Linked DNA regions of Homo sapiens: region 2 is linked to region 1. The links are contacts of gene promoters, found by promoter capture Hi-C in blood cells and fetal thymus (Javierre and others, 2016). All regions are on one chromosome and are shown on one strand. Each heading gives the region's core, a stretch centred on a gene start or on the middle of the fragment in contact. The rest is flanking DNA. Distances are from core to core; before and after follow the strand shown.

Region 1 (4,066 bases), core at 1,074-3,573:
ACCCCTTAGAGATTTTGCATCCTGGGAAATCATCCAGTCCAAGGATGAAAGTAGACCAGTACAGACTCGGGACAGGAAGGGGTGGCTAAGAAAAAAAGGGAAATCAGTGGCATGCAAAACCATCTCATTAGAAAGATGAAACTGAGGAGTAAATTGCTGATTACCTGAAAACAAGAAATCCAAACAAGAAAATATTATGTTCATTAAGAAAGACCACAATATATCTATAAAACTTTTATTAAAATTGGAATTAGAAACTATACCAAAAACTTTAAAAATACATTAAGACATTGTTCTTTTTTCTTACAGAAAAGAGGGTGAAAATAAGACCCATGGCAAAGAGCCATCCCTGATAATTTTGTTCCTTTCAAACATTCATGAACATTTAAATAAAATTACAAATATTTAAATAACCCTAAGGTATTACCCACAGGCTAAAACTTGCCAGTAATTCCTTAGCCCTGCTATTTCAATATCAATTCCACAAACATGGAAAATTATGGTAACTGCAGGCTGTAACAGTTTCTAATATTCACATTATGAACTATTTGTTATGTTGTCATAAGAATGTGCTCATGCTATAGGCAAATTCAGAGGTGATTTCACCATTTTCAAATTATCATCAAGAGTGTGAAAGAGGAAGATGACACACACGTGGGATGGTGTGGAAATCCAAAGCCCCACATTTTGGGAGTCTGTGACCACTCCCATCTGCCACTAAAGCTACGAGTTGGTGTTGGCATGAATCTGCTTTGTTTATTCCCAGCAGGCTCTGGCTCGTGTCACATAAGGCACCAACATCCTTTTCAAGGTAGTAACCATCTAGAATCAACTCAATTGTAACCTGAATTCATAAGCTTAAGTCACCAAAAGACATCACTGGGTCATAATTATATAGGTTCCCCTAAAAAAATAAAAAAAAAATCAATTTCTGCTATGTAGAAAAAGAAACAAAAGGTTTAGGTGCCTTTGCCTTGTGCAATGGATATTTCATATGTTTATTAATTGGTTTCAGTTAATATGTAATATGAAGGCATGATAAATGTGTCAAACTGTTCTCTTGTTTCAGATACAATTCTTGGCATTTCAATATAGGTTATTATCTCATATGTCAGACTTGAGTCCAGAGAATACTAGAAGGACATTTAATTTCCTTTCCTCCTCCTTCCTTTCACTACTCAATTCAAAGAAAAGTTATGAGTACACAGCTAGGAACCATTTTTACGTAGGCATCCATCTGAGCCCATCTTGTTTTTTTTTTCTAAAACAACAAAAAGACTAAGGACAATTACATAATGCATTCCCAAGCCTTTTATGGATATCAGGGCCTGGGGGGACTATCTGGCCTATTTGGGTTCTTTCATTCACCAAAATTCTATTATACATGCCAAGGGTTAAAGGGAACACCATCAGTCAAGAGACGGCTGGGCCCTAGAATGGAATCTATTAGCATAAAATGGAACAGTGGGACCCAAAGAGCTATCAGCAAAATTCCCTTTGTAACAGACGTAAAAATCATGAATTTGAGGGGAAAAATAAACTAGTTTTGGTGGGATGCAGTGGCTAACAGGAATTACTTATTAGAAGGTAATGAAGTTGCTAAATTTTCCTTGTTTTTGATCCCTGTGTTCTGTTGGTCTCTTGAAGCAATCTGAGTGGGAAAGGAAAGTGAAAGAAATGTTTTATGCCAGCTGCCTCTTGTATTCCCATTAATGGGAGTCTCTACATTAATGCTCTACATAATTTGGTCAGACTGATGAGAGGCAATAGATTTCCAATGCTGATGAGATCCAGAGCCCTGGAGCCCATTTATGGCTTGACATTCACCCAGCAAGACGCTGACGTGGCAGCAAACACGGCTCCAATGTCCAGCTTACCTCATAGTTATCCCTTCAATCCTTCTTGATGAGATTGGTCTGAGAGATGAGACTGTACTGAAATCACAAGAGCTATAACTGCCAGAGAAAAATTAAATGGGGTCTTCAAGTAGTGACTGAGCCAGCAAACTAAGTGGCCAAGAGGGAGACAAGAGCAGCTCCTAAAGAAGGTTGAAGTCAAGCAATCTCCGGAACACAGAGGATCTGAAGCATCTGGGCAGAGCCACAGGCAGGCAGGGCAAGGACACACAGCACACCAGAGCAGCACCGTCCTTCACTGTGTGAGAGCAACTCTCAGGCTGCAGAACCAATTGCCATCTCCACTGCCTACAGCTCAGGTCTCCAACTACCAGATAGGGAGTAAAAAACAGTTTGATTTTATTCACCTCAAGTCTAAACACGGTGGAAAAAAAACTGGTCTAGAGATGGAAACTATATTTCATGGGGGTTTATTAAACAGAGAAAGAGGAGAATCTTTCACAATTTCACAGTGCTTTCTCATTGAAATAAAGACATGATCAGGAAAAGTCACCCTTATAGGCAAGCTATCACCTCCCTAAGTAGGGGAGGCACCAAAATCTCCAGAGAATCCTGAGACCACTTGCACGAGTTGAATTATTTTTTAAAATAAACTTATGCTTAAATATGCTAGGTCTCAATTTCTATAAATAAGGTAAAAAATAGTATATTTCAGAAGTTTTAATAGTTCTTTGTAGAGAGAGAACATTTTACCATGTACATAATTCACAAGGGTATAAAGGTTTCCCAATGTAAAGTTCCTTTTACCCTTCAACTGTAACCCATAGCATCTGCCCAAATACTGCTCATTTTTCACTTTCTACTATATGTCTCTTTCCTGCCAACTGAGGTAGTTGTCACTTAGGACAGTTTAAGGCTCTGGAAAACACTGGTGGAAATAATCAACTGCCCACCTGGAGGGCAGTCTCAGAGCTGACCCTTTGGAAGTCTGCAATGGAGCTAGGCCTTTCAAAATTACCACGCTAAATGGCTGGTCTAAAGGAGTCATTACGGCTTTTTAAAAAATCATCTGCCTTTTTCCATCATCTTGGTGAGCCAGTAAGTCTGGTGCTGTGCGCTTGCCATGACCATCTATCTTCCTGGCTAAGGTAATTACAGACTTTTCCAGGGTATAAGGGTGAAGACCACAAAGAAAAAGAACCAAGTAAATGACAGACACTTGAGAATTTGCTTCCTCACAGATGACATTGCTGGTTTATAAGGGGTACTTTGCAATGGCAAAAGAATCTGAAACTAATGCTACTGCAATAACAGGCAGCATACATCTCAGGTCAGAAACGCAATCATAAATAAGTGTAAGTTCATGGAAACTTGACAGCTGAATGAGCACCCAGAGGCATGAAGATAACCTGGAGCCTATTTCCTGGCAATGCAAATTGTGGCTGCTGCATAACTACAAATTGTGTATCAAGAAACTACATAGTTTCAAGGCTTAAAAATTACCCAGATTTGGGGGAGTATGGGTGGTGAGAAAAGGCTGAAAGGAATGGACAGAGCATGTAGACAAAGGAAGGGAAAGGAAAAGGAGACAGTTTCCTGATTTCATAGCAACTCAAAGATAACATGACCCAATGACAGGAAAATGGAGAACGTATAAAAAGCATCCAAATCCCCTAAACAAGATGACTTCTCCTAGCTAGCAGGAATAATGCTACTCTGAACATACATAGTTCACAGGTAAGGGAACTGACCCTTCCTGAAAGGGCAAAGGCAGGGTAAGGAAGAATGGGAAGAGAAGAATACAAATGTTTTTTAAGATGGAATTGAAAGTTGAATATAATAAAAAGCCCAGTACATCTCACCTGCAGAAGAGCCTACAGGCATGTTCCTAAAGGCAAATAGGACTTTCTATCATATGTATGAGAACTAAATCAAAGCTTAAAACAACAGCTCCTGGGGCTTTAATGGATAATCCATATTAATAAATATGTAGGGGCCTAGGGGGTGTGTCACTCTGGAGCACTTGCTGGTTCTGGAACATGAGTTTGTTATGTTTTTTAAAAGACATTCATTTAAAAAACAAAACAATAAAAATCTATTTTCCTCCCAAAACAGTTAAATCAATAATTATTCTAAAGTCACTGAAATAAAAGCTGGAGTGAAGGAGGCTCAGATTTGTGGATTTCTCTCTGGAAGTTGCAGCCTATAGT
Region 2 (4,066 bases), core at 1,025-3,524, 550 kb after region 1:
GAAGAAAGGAATATCTCTACTTGGATCAATTCTGGTCATTTCAAGAGGATGGAGGCCTCAAGTGTGGGAACTTCCCCTACTCCCTGGATGTGTGTACCTAGCACACTTCCTTCTCCCACCCCTTTTTCCAGTTGGATTTGTTTTTCTGTTCTCTTCTGTCCTGTCTTATACTGCAACTGTGTCTCCTAGGGGACAGATGGCCTTCTTTGTCATCTTCACTCTCCACCCCCAGAGAGGAGTCAGAGCCATAACTCAATCACTCAGCCCCTCCAAAGATAGTTGATGTGTGATAATCTCATAATGTTGAGAACCCTGATGAGATACATTGTCTTCCTCTCCCTACAATGCCTCTGGGGCCAAGGCACCCATTCTTCTTGCTATCCTCCATCCCCCTTGAGGCTTCCACTTTTTTTTTTTTTAGACATAAAGCTGGGCATCAGCAACTGGCCTGTGGTGATGCAAAGCTGCTTTGCTCTGTATCTGGCTGGACTGATCTGTCTCACAAGAAGCCATGAGGCCATAGGGAGAAGCTCCCTCTCCCCTTCATCTTCTGCTCCAAAGGTGGTAGCAAGAGGAGTACCCAGTTAGGGGTTGGAGCCCCCATATAACATCTTCCTGTCAGAAGACTGATGGATCTTTTTCATTCCAACCATCTCCCTTTCCCCCGATGAATGCAATAAAACTCTGTGACACCAGCAACCATTGCTCTTTAGAAATGGGTTTTCTGATCATATGGCTGATGTGTTATGGGCAGTATGGATGTCTTCATTTGTTGCTTCTGTTTTTCATCTTTTTTGTTTTATTAATAAAAATTTATGTATTTGCTCCTGTTACTATAATAATACAGGGAATAAATTATTCAATCCAAATTTCTGTACAGAAATGCCTTTTTTTTTTTTTTTTTAAATTTCACTTCTCTCAGGGAGCCTGTGTTTAAGGGTGCAGAGACCAGCTGAAGAATTCTGGTGTTCAAGGTGTTGGGCCCCTAACTAAGGATGTGGGTTTCTAGACAGATGGCTGTGAACTTTTTTAAAAAGGCTGTGAAGGGTGTGCACGGGAATGGAAAACTTAGTCTTTAACCTTGTGGGAGGTCAGCGGTAGTGAGGGCCAGGGAAGAGTAGGGTGATGGGACCCTTCCTCTTCCCAGAGTTCTGGGCTTGCTAACACTCCATCTTTGTAAAGGTGAGTAGGCCTCTCAGCCCACCAGCTAAAAGAAAAGGAATCTAGTATTCCCCCAGGCTTCCTGGGAAAGCTGTCCTCTTCCTGGAGGGAAGGAAGAGTACAGCAGGGTCCTGGGAAAGTGAAGAAAGTGACTAGCCCTCCAGTCTAGAGGGGGGAGTGAAAAAGGGGTGGATGAATAGAGGTTGTTGCCAGTTTGGGAGATTCCTGCCTGTCTTGGCTGAGGAAGTCTTTTGGCTGGTGGAAAAACCTGGCTTGATGTGGCCCCAGGGAAGTGAGTTGGATTGGGCGGAGACTGCTTGATGTGGGAAGCAGAGCAGAGCTTTTTTTTTTTCTTCTTTGAGAGTTTTTAACTCTATTTGAACCATACACTTGACACCACCACCACCTCGAGCCACTTTTTAAAAAATGTATTCGCTTCCCATTCTGCACCAGCCTCCATATCCCTGTTTGTGGAAAGAAAAATCAGAGGCACTGACCAATGATCATCTGAGAGCAGGTTGTGGGGGTCATAGGAGGTAACAATCTAGAAAGAGGCAGGAGATGAGGGAGGGGATTGAAATAGTTTAGTACCCGGATTTGTTTATTTTTTAGAGCCAATGCTTTTCTTTTTACTATGACTCTTCCCATCCCACATTGTTCCTCAAAGGCCCTTCTACCATAAGGATTCAAAAAATTGCCGCCCTCCCCCCGAATCCCCATATACCCACCAACACTTCACCCACCCATCCACCACCAGCTCCTGGGAGCTGCTACGCAGCTGGCTGGGAAAGAAAAGGGAGAGTGCTCCGCCGGGAGCGGGGAGCGAGTAGGGTGGCGTCTCCAGGGATTTAACCTCCTACCCTCAGTTCCATGACGCCACCCCCTCCCTCCAAAGACTGGGACAGCGCCTCCATTTTTGTTTTGGGGAGGAAGGGCAGGGGCTTGCGGATAGAAGGGGGTCAAAGGAACGGTGATTATCACCTGTGAGGGGAAAGGGGGTGCTGTCCTCCCTCCTTCCCTTTTCCTCAGCCTGCACCCCCTGCAATCCCCCACCTTTCGGGGTCTCCCCCTCCTTGTTGCTAAGGCCCGGACCGTCATCCCAGCAACAGCCTCAGTCATGTGACCGGCAATGGCGGCGCTGACGAGAGGTAGGTGAGCCCGGCGCCCCCCACACCCACCGCGCGCCCCCCGGGCCCCGCTCGCACCCCTCACGCGCCCCCCGCTCCCCCGGCGCCCCCTCCTCCACCTCCCCTCCCCGCGCGCGGCTCCGGGCTCCCCGCTCCGTGCCCGGCCGATCATCTTTCTAGCACCCTCCAGCCTTGGCCTCCATTCGGGGGTTCTGAGGGCTGCGATCGGGCCGACATGCACCCCCACCCGGCGGTGGGGATCCGGGGGCTTTGGCTACTGAGGGATGTGGGGAGTTGGTTCCGGGTCGGGTCTTGGAGGAGGCCGTGGGGGGAGGGCGGGAGCTGCTTCAGTGGATGCCCCCAGGGACCCTTGCCCATCCGGGCTGTGCCTCCCTCTGGCCTCTGTCTGGAGGGAGAGACTGGTTCCTTGTCCGGCCTGGGTTGCCACAGAGGAATCACAGACCCACCCTAAACTGGGGCCCCGCCTCCCTTTTCTGTGCCAGCAGGACTTGGACCTAGGACACCTAGGTCCTGGGTCCCCCGTGATGGGGAGAGAAGTGTTGCATCGCGGATAGACTGTATGGGCTGAGACTCTAGGGTTCCATTTTCACTTATGAATCTCGAGGTGCATCTGGCCTTGGGGGACGATGATGGAGGCATGAAGGGACAGCTGCTCCTTCTTGGATCAGTCAATAAATGGAGGTCACACTAATGGCCCTTCTTTCTGTTTGAGCTGCATTTGGAAGTGTTGTGGAGACAGCCCCGTAGCCCAATGCGACCAGACTCAGGGAAAACATCAGGCCCCTCCAGCTGAGCCCTTGTGTGAGCCCCGCCCCTCCCTAAATGCCAGACTTGGGAGCTGACAGACAGCACTGCCTGTGCTGGGTTTAAAAGGTGACAATGAGAACTTTGTTATTGCAGGGGCTGCTGCCACTTTGTTCACATCCTTAACAGACTTCAGCAGAAGGGACTGAGTTAGCTCTCAAGGAAGGCTCCCTGGCAATAGGGGCTGAATTATTTGGCAATGTGGAGCAGGCGAGGAGTTGGGGAGCATAGGAAATATTCCGGTCCATGTGATCTGAGGGAGGTGGCAAGAAGACCTCCACCTGTGTGGGCGTTTTCTTTCCTGACTTCTCTTATGTGTGCCCTAGGCTTTCTTGGGGGCCTCAGAGCTGGGGAAGAAAGGAGGAAGGTTAGCATGTTGAAGTTCCTTCTTGAGCAACTTGGGGAGAAGCTGATAATGGAATTCTGCAGAGAAGAGAGGAGATGGAAGGGGAGTTTTTATTTCTGGGTTGGCTGAGGGGAATGGTAACATTTGCCATCATAACTTTTTACCCTTCCCCCACTCCCAGTCCTGGTCAGCTGAGTGGAAATAGAAGGATTTCTGCTGCCATCATCTTCCATGGGCTTTCCAGGTATCTCCCCCGCAAGGGATCCTCAATTTTCACCCTTAAACTGGTTTCCTTCATTCCATGTTCCAAGTAATGCCATTCTTAGTAACCTATACCCAGGTTTCTGTCTCTGTTCCATGGGCTGCTGGGTTGGGGGCCATGGGAATTGGGAGAAGGGGTTTCTCACTTTCCTTCCATTTTTCCGCCCTACCAGGTCACACGACCTACAAGTAGGGAGCAGGGAAAGAAGAGTGAGCCTGCATGCCAATTCTAAGCTCTTCAGGATCAAAGTAAGCAAAAAGGAGGGGCAAAGAGTCTCCCTCCCCTTTAAACAGCCCATTTTTCCCCAAGAGGTGGGAGGGGCAAGTTGTTTCTATGATCTGGGAG

Evidence for each region. The method cuts DNA at HindIII sites, captures the fragments that hold promoters and counts their contacts. A CHiCAGO score of 5 or more calls a contact.
Region 2: the fragment with the promoter of DTX3 here is called in contact with a fragment that was not itself captured in region 1 in 1 of 17 cell types (neutrophils); the score reaches 5.4 in neutrophils.

What each region holds. Positions count from the first base shown.
Region 1 is chr12:57,055,422-57,059,487 of GRCh38, forward strand. NEMP1 (nuclear envelope integral membrane protein 1) reads right to left here. Exons shown (of 9, transcript NM_001130963.2): 9 at 222-4,066. Among named protein-coding and RNA genes, the nearest start is that of MYO1A, 7.3 kb to the left of the region's middle. The HindIII fragment of the contact is 2,936 bases long and covers 856-3,791 here.
Region 2 is chr12:57,602,550-57,606,615 of GRCh38, forward strand. DTX3 (deltex E3 ubiquitin ligase 3) reads left to right here and starts at 2,275. Exons shown (of 7, transcript NM_178502.4): 1 at 2,275-2,309; 2 at 3,022-3,182; 3 at 3,641-3,703; 4 at 3,894-3,969. The coding sequence starts at 3,969. It overlaps PIP4K2C (phosphatidylinositol-5-phosphate 4-kinase type 2 gamma), which reads left to right. Exons shown (of 10, transcript NM_024779.5): 10 at 1-869. RefSeq lists enhancers at 1,645-2,156, 2,157-2,669. The HindIII fragment of the contact is 28,357 bases long and covers 1-4,066 here.